Regions from separate parts of the Homo sapiens genome. Here region 1 is linked to region 2. Evidence: promoter capture Hi-C in 16 types of primary human blood cells and fetal thymus (Javierre and others, 2016). All regions are on one chromosome and are shown on one strand. The core of a region is centred on a gene start or on the middle of the fragment in contact, and the rest is flanking DNA. Distances in the headings are between cores, read along the strand shown. Region 1 holds the start of ZNF543 (zinc finger protein 543). Region 2 holds the start of ZNF446 (zinc finger protein 446).

Region 1 (4,003 bases), core at 1,224-3,723, 1.2 Mb before region 2:
TTGAGACGGAGTCTTGCTCTGTTGCACAGGCTGGAGTGCAATGGCATGATCTTGGCTCACTGCAACCTCCATCTCCTGGATCCAAGGGACTCTTGTGCCTCAGCCTCCCGAGTAGCTGGGATTACAGGTGCCTGCCAGCACACCCAGCTAATTTCTGTATTTATAGTAGAGATAGGGTTTCACCATGTTGGTCAGGCTGGTTTCGAACTCCTGACCTCAAGTGATCCACCCGCATCAGCCTCCCAAAGTGCTGGGATTACAGACGTGAGCCACCGTGCCCAGCCCATTTTGGTTCTTTGTTAATATGGTAATATTATATTTAAACTCTTGGATTGCATTATTGGTTTCCTTGGATTTTTCCTTCCTTGCCATCCAGACTCTGAATTCTAAGTCATTTCAGCCATTTAAGCATGGTTCCAAACCATCACTAGGGAGCTAGTGCAGTCGTTTGGAGACCTTTAGAGTTGCCAGAAATCTTGCACTGGTTCTTTCTCATATGTGTGGGCTGATGTTCCTTGAATCTTTGAAGTTGCTCTCCTTTGGATGGGGCTTTCTGCTTTTATATTATTTGATGCCCTTGGGAGTTTTACTGTGGTATAAGTTGGGTTTAGTTTCATGGTTTCAATTATGGGTGCTTTCACAGGCCAAGGCTCAGCTGAGCACTCCTGAGCTGCATGCTGTAAACCTGGGTAGAGGGGATTAAGCCCTTGGCTTTGTTCTCTGGCTGCTTGGGGTGAAGCACCTGCTGTGCTAGAGGGGCTGAGGTGTTCTCAGTCTGCTGGCAAAAGTGCTCCAGCAGAGCATTGTGGGGACTGCAGAGAGTGCACTGTGGCTGGGGGATGGGGAGGCCACAGGCAAGTGTGCACCACTTGGGCAGTAGAGGGGGGCTACCTGCAAGTGTGTGCCAATGGGGTGGCATGGCTGTGGTGTAGGTGAGTGAAGCACCATGGTGTGAGGGGTCCCCGGCAATGCCTCCCACCTTTTTGAATCTCCAGTGTCTATTATTCCACTATTTCCATATGTATACATCATTTAGCTACCACTTATAAGTGATAACATGCAGTATTTGACTTTGTTTCTGAATTATTTCACTTAAGAGAATGGCCCCCCAGTTCCAGCCATATTGCTGCAAAAGCCATGATTTTTTTTAATGACTGAGTAGTATTCCATGGAGTGTATATATATATACACATATATACATATACATACATATATATACATATATATACATATACATACATATATACATATATACATATACATACATATATATACATATATATACATATACATACATATATATACATATATATACATATACATACATATATATACATATACATACATATATATACATATATATACATATACATACATATATACACATATATATACATATACATACATATATACATATATATACATATACATACATATATACATATATATACATATACATACATATATACATATACATACATATATATACATATATACATATACATACATATATATACATATATATATCGCATTTTCTTTATCCAATCATCTGTCGATGGACACTTAGGTTGATTCTATGACTTTGCTACTGTGAATAGTGCTACAGTAAGCATGTAAGTACAGGCATCTTTTTGATATAGTGGTTTATTTTCCTTTAAGTAAATACCCAATAGTGGAATTGCCAGATCAAATGGCAGTTCTATTTTCAGTTCTTTGATAAATCTCCATACTGTTTTCCATAGAGGTTGTACTAATTTACATTCCCACCAATAGCATATAAGCGTTCCCTTTTCCTTGCATCCATACCAACATCTGTTGGTTTTTTACTTTTTAATAATAGCCACTCTGACCAGTATAAGATGGCATCTCAGTGTGTTTATGTGTGTGTGTTTTCTCTCATCATATCTCATTATAACCTCAAATTCCTGGGCTCAAGCAATCCTCTTGCTTCAGCCTCCCAGTGTCTAGGACTACAGGTGTACACCATCATGCCTTGCTCTTTTTTTTTTTTTTGGTAGATATAACATCTTACTATATTGCCCAGGGTGGTCTCAAACTCCTGACCTCAGCAATTATTTTGTGTTGGCATCCCAAAGCACTGAGATTACATATATGAGCTACCTCCCTAAAATAAGGGAAGTGAGCCAGAAGCTCTGGGCCCAGCCCATGATCTCAATCGGGGCGAATATCCCCGCCTCCTGACCTCAATTTTCCTAAGCTAGAAAGGACCTTTCGACCCTCCGACTTGTGCCCATAGTAAAGCGGCGGCCCTAAGACGACGCGGGGGTCCTTGTGCGCACTTAAATGGAGTCGGCTGCGCTTGGTGAGTTCCCACACCCGGTAGATGTGAGGGAAAAACTGCCTTACTCAGAAGGCACCACCCCTTGCGTCGGCCGCGGACTCTAGGCCAATGACGGGCCAGGACACGGGCGATTTCTGCGGGCCAGGGCGGCGGAGGTGGGACTTCCGCTTCGTCGCGTGACGTCATCTCCGTGAGCAGGATTGGCCCTGGAACAGTGTGGGGCCTGGACCGCTGGGTAGGCGCGTCCAGCGGCCTGAGCAGGGGAGGGTAATGAGGCTGTTACGCGCCTTCTCCGCATCTTGGCGGGAGCCTGACGCCCCGCTTCTTCCCTAACGGGGTGTTCCACCGGCGCCTGCCGAGGCCTAGGCCTCCGCAGCCGCCCTCCGTCTCCTCAGCCCCGACGCTGCGCCCGCTTTGTGCGCATTTTTCTCTGGGGAAACTGAGGCTCCGAGTGCGAAAGTCAGCCGAGGTCGCCCCGCCCAGGACAGAGAAGGGCTGGGGGTCGGCTGAGCCGCGGCATTCCCGGGCCCCGCTAGGGCTGCAGGGTCTCAGGATGGCAGCCTCGGCGCAGGTGAGTGGACGAGGTTTTGGCCTTGCTGCTGCTCTGCTACTTCTGGAGGCCTCGTGGGCAGGCAGAAGCCAAGACAGCCACAGGATGTTTCTTTGTCGCCGTCGTTTATTTAAGAGAAGTGGCCGTAGCTTGTCATTTCCTTTATCCGCAGTCCTGCAATAGTGTTGGCCTCCGACAGGTGCTCAGTCCTTGGTAGAAGGATGAATGATGCTTCCTTCATGGATCTCATCACACTTCCCTTAAATCCAACCTCCTCTGTTGCCTGCCAGCCCCTACCCCATCCACCTGGCCAACCACCCCTGACCTTGTCTCTCCATTTTTCCCTTGTCCTTTGCTCTTCAGAGCCACCAACCTGACCGTGCAGTCTTCTTCCTTTTTCCAGGCTTTCTCTTTGCACTTCCCTTTGCCTTGAACACTGCCCCTATAACTTCGCAGGGCCTCCCTCTCATATCTTTCTGGCCTCTGTCCAGATGTCACCTATTTGGAGGTGGCTTTCTTGGCAATTCCGGCTAAAGTGGCGCCTTACGCACTTGCCCATTTTTGGCAATGTGTGGCATTTTTGTATAGAGAATCTGACGATATTAAAGAAGCTTGCCGTTTGAGTTGGTCTAGGATGTTATGTGAACAAAGAGAAACGAAATAATTGCAAAGAGTGACAGCTGATCATAAAGAGTCCTTGCTGTGGGCTGATTGGCAGGCATTATTTAACCCTCAGCTCCTTTAATCCTGAACTCCTTAGAATTAGGTTCTCTTGTCCTCACTGTTTTACACAAGAGCAGCTGGAGGCTCACATAGGTTCAATTACCTGCCTTACATCACTGTAGCTCTTAAGTATCAGAAACTAACAACTGGTGTGTCTACCATCACAGCCTGTGTTTTTACCCTCTTCTTTGCCCGCAATGGTTAGGGAGGCCTGGGGGTGACACCTAAAGTAAACTTTGCAAGTTGAGCAGGCTTCCTTCTAGCAGGTGGTCTTGGACATGAGGAGTCATGGCATTTCATGCTGGTGGAACTGTGTGGACTAAAAAAAAATGGTTTATTGGTTGTTTAAGGAGTCCGCAGGGGACCCGTGTGGCTTCCACAGTGGTTTCCTGAGTGGTTTTCTCCTATACCAGCTGACACATGTCTTG
Region 2 (3,868 bases), core at 7-2,506:
AAGCACCTCATCCCCAAAAACAACCTGAGGAGGCCGTTGGAAAGCTCCGAGTTGACAAGTCTCATCCACGCACATGCTCGGTGCTTCCAATCGGTGATCAAGACCACTGCTCTTCATCCAGAGCAGGCAGCAGGGATTCCCAGGTATCCAAAGAAACCAAAACAGGCGGTGTAATTTAGGACTGACTAAGTAATGGCTCGGCCACTTTTAAGTGTGGAAGCAAAACTGACCCCACAGATTTAGAAAACTGTAACACTGCTTATTGGGAGAAACTAGTGTCACCCTGGCTAGTTCTGCTCCCCAAATTCAAAGGTAAATAAACGGTTGAGCATGTCCGATCAGCCTGGAGGGAAACCTCCACCCCCGACTTTGTAGGACTGACATCTGAAGACGTCAGAGACTGCGGTCACAACCGTCGGTACCTCCTTAGGGCGCTTAACAGAGGTCAAAGATGGCCCTCGCACCCTCCTGGCGGGAGAAAGCCCAGGCTCAGGGTGGTCTTCTACACCACCGCCTCTCCCGGGTCCACTTGGAAGCGAGTCCCAGCGAACTACTCGACCTAGGAAACCACTGGGCCGCCACTTCCAGCCTCTTCGGAAGTCGAGGCAACGCTCCTGAACGTTGCCACGGGAACAGCTGGAGGCGGGCGGATATGCCCTAGCGTTATCTAGGGGCTGGCCCGGGGAATGGCGTGGGGGCGGCGGGGCCAAGCAAGCGCCACCTCTGATTGGGCAAAACCCCCTCCCCTCACCTGCCAATAGAAACCGGCCCACTGTACAGACGCGCAAGTTTATAACCCGGGAAGAGCTGCTCTCAGAGCGGAGGGAGACCATATAACCCTGGGACTCTGCCGTACCTCCTAGAGGAACAGAGCGCCTCTCAGGCGTCAGAGGCTGCTGCAAATGCGGGTCAGCGGGTCACGGTCGCGCCTGTCTTGCTGATGCTCATGGGAAATGTAGTTCAAAGGGCATGGGCGGTGCCTTCGGTGCAGGCGAGAGATTGGTCAGCGCGGCGTCGCCGGGGCAACACCCGGCTGAGGCGCCCCGCGTTGTGCGGCGCCACATCCGGGAAGCGGCCTCCAAGCAACCGCTCCGGGTTGAGGTGAGCGCAGGCTGCCAGAGTGGGCGCAGCCTTTCCACCCCGTGGGAGGGCTTGGGGTCGCCCTCTGGGGCCTGAACGGCTCCTGCTGTCGGCGCCCTGGAGGGCCCGCCCACTTCCCGACAGGCCGCGCGCGTCACCTCAGCCTTCGCTCAGGCCTTTCCTACCCTCAACGCCGTTCCGGGGGGCCGGGCCTGGCAAGTCCTCTTGGAACGCCTCCCTCTTGCCTTCCCCTTTTGGGGACAGATCCCGAAGTTCGAGCATCCCTCGGATAGGCCGGGTGTCAGGCCTGGTCTCTCAGGCCCGTCCAGGTGGGCGTCTTTCACTGCAGACCTTCAGGGCCGGGATGCTGTGGCCATCCCTCGACTCCGCGCAACGTGGAGCTTTGGCCCCGTTTTTCTTGGCCTTTGCTTTTCGTTTTCACATGCACGGGCCCCGGCAGTGTGAGTCGCCCACGGCTCGCTGTGGTCAGCGAGCACGATGTCCACGTGCCCCCTCCCCAGAGCCATTCCTAAAGGAGGTCCCACCCAGTCAACCTCCCCGAGATTGTGGAGGGCGACTCGTCCCCGTACATTACAGCCTGGCCCCACCTTCTACCCGCCCACCCTGGTCCACTCTCCTCGCACCTCGGCTAGACACTGTGGCTCCTCAGCCTGGCGCTGGAACTCTGTGATGACTGTCTTTCTCCACCTCTTTAGCGTCATCTCCCAGCAGTCCCCTGCTGGACCCAACTGTTTGCAATTTCCAGGAAGCTCCCTGGACACCTTGCGTCCAAGCATTTGTCCCTGAGGCTTCCTCCTGCTCTCATTTGCCATCATTGTTTGGGTCCTGTGACCCTCCTCCTTCCATGAAGCTTTCTTGGCCTTATCTCTTCTGGCCTCAGAGTACACTTGGTCCTGGTCTCAGCCCCCTGGGCTGAGCCTGGTGTCTGCCTTCCCCTGGCCAGATTCTCTTGGCTGACATTCCGACCCTTCCTTTTCTGTAGGCCCATCTTGACGATTCCAAGACCACCCCCTTGAGCAAGAATGCCATCCCCTCTGGGTCCCCCATGCCTGCCCGTCATGGACCCAGAGACCACCCTTGAGGAGCCTGAGACTGCCCGCCTCCGCTTCCGAGGGTTCTGCTACCAGGAGGTGGCAGGTCCCCGAGAAGCCCTGGCCCGGCTGCGTGAGCTGTGTTGCCAGTGGCTGCAGCCTGAGGCACACTCCAAGGAGCAGATGCTGGAGATGCTGGTGCTGGAGCAGTTCCTGGGCACACTGCCTCCCGAGATCCAGGCCTGGGTGCGCGGTCAGCGGCCAGGCAGTCCTGAGGAGGCCGCTGCCCTAGTCGAAGGACTGCAGCATGACCCTGGGCAACTGTTGGGCTGGGTGAGTGTGGCTGGCATCAGCTTCTTGGAGGGATAGACCCTGGCTAGAGCCATTGTGACCTACCTCTTCTCCTCAGATCACAGCCCATGTCCTGAAGCAGGAGGTGCTCCCTGCAGCCCAGAAGACAGAGGAACCACTTGGGAGCCCCCACCCCTCAGGGACAGTGGAGTCCCCTGGGGAAGGTCCCCAGGACACCAGAATAGAGGGGTCTGTCCAGCTCAGCTGCAGTGTGAAGGAGGAGCCCAATGTCGATGGACAGGAAGTGGGTGAGGTTGGGGTCCCACCAGAGATGAGGGACTCCTGGAGGAAGTGTGGACATTCCTGGCTAGGGTGGGAGTCCCAGGAGAGGTGTGTCAAGGCTGGGACTCCTGAAGTGAATGTGGATGTCCCTGTCTGGGATGGGGACCTGGGAGGCAGGAGCCAAGGGCTGGCTACGTGCCATGTCACACAGCAGAGGAGCTCCTCATCTGCCATGGCTCATGTGGGCAGCCCCTGACACCACCCTTCCATCTGCCCCACTTTTCAGCACCCTCCAGCCCTCCACTTGCAGCACAGTCCCCTGAGGGGAACCATGGACACCAAGAACCAGCCTCCACATCCTTCCACCCACCCAGGATTCAGGTGAGCAGCCCCAAGTGGGAAGTATAGGCCCCAGGTGTGAGAAGGGACTGTCCCCATGGCTGCCCTCTGCCTGGTGGTTTTCCAGGCTCCTTGACTAGTGGCTCTTTGCTTCCCAGAAGTGGAGTCTGTAAAAGCTGTACCCCTCCACAGGACCTGGGGCAGAGGGACAGACTGGTGATCTATTATTGAAAAGGATTTGGGGCTGGACATGGTGGCTTACACCTGTAATCCTAGCACTTTGGGAGGCTGAGGTGAGCGGATCACCTGAGGTCAGGAGCTCGAGACCAGCCTGACCAATGTGGTGAAACCCTGTATCTACTAAAGATACAAAAATTAGCCAGAAGTGGTGGCAGGCGCCTGTAATCCCAGCTACTAGGGAGGGTGAGGCAGGACAATTGCTTGAACCCAGGAGGCAGAGGATGCAGTGAGCCGAGATTGTGCCACTGCGCTCCAGCCTGGTCAACAAGAGCAAAATTGTGTGTCAAAAACAAAAAAAAAAAAAAGGATTTGGGCCTCAAGCCATGGAAACCCAGTTTAGAGTGGCTGGAACTAGTGGGCTTGGCTTCCTCACCTCCAGAGAAGTCAGCTGGGAGGTTTGCTGCTCCCAGAGGTCCTGAGCCAGACCTGGGGATTTGAACTTTTGTGTGTAGCTGGGGAGGGGAGAAGATGACCAGCTGTGGCAGGACTCCCCCCACACCTGAGACCAGATGGAGACACTCTCCCTGGGAAATGCCCGAAGTCCCTTCTCTCCTAGGGGTTTCTTCAGAGGCCACCTGTTAGGC

What was found. The method cuts DNA at HindIII sites, captures the fragments that hold promoters and counts their contacts. A CHiCAGO score of 5 or more calls a contact.
Region 1: a contact is called between the fragment with the promoter of ZNF543 here and the fragment with the promoter of ZNF446 in region 2, in 1 of 17 cell types (fetal thymus). The highest score is 5.4, in fetal thymus.

The regions. Positions count from the first base shown.
Region 1 is chr19:57,317,999-57,322,001 of GRCh38, forward strand. It overlaps ZNF543 (zinc finger protein 543), which reads left to right and starts at 2,474. Exons shown (of 4, transcript NM_213598.4): 1 at 2,474-2,873. The coding sequence starts at 2,856. RefSeq lists enhancers at 850-1,367, 2,293-2,412, 2,423-2,572. The HindIII fragment of the contact is 3,609 bases long and covers 1-3,461 here.
Region 2 is chr19:58,475,096-58,478,963 of GRCh38, forward strand. ZNF446 (zinc finger protein 446) reads left to right here and starts at 1,257. Exons shown (of 7, transcript NM_017908.4): 1 at 1,257-1,409; 2 at 2,084-2,465; 3 at 2,542-2,731; 4 at 2,992-3,086. The coding sequence starts at 2,124. It overlaps ZNF324 (zinc finger protein 324), which reads left to right. Exons shown (of 4, transcript NM_014347.3): 4 at 1-341. RefSeq lists enhancers at 346-435, 496-555, 796-1,045, 867-1,161, 1,316-1,515. The HindIII fragment of the contact is 6,419 bases long and covers 1-1,949 here.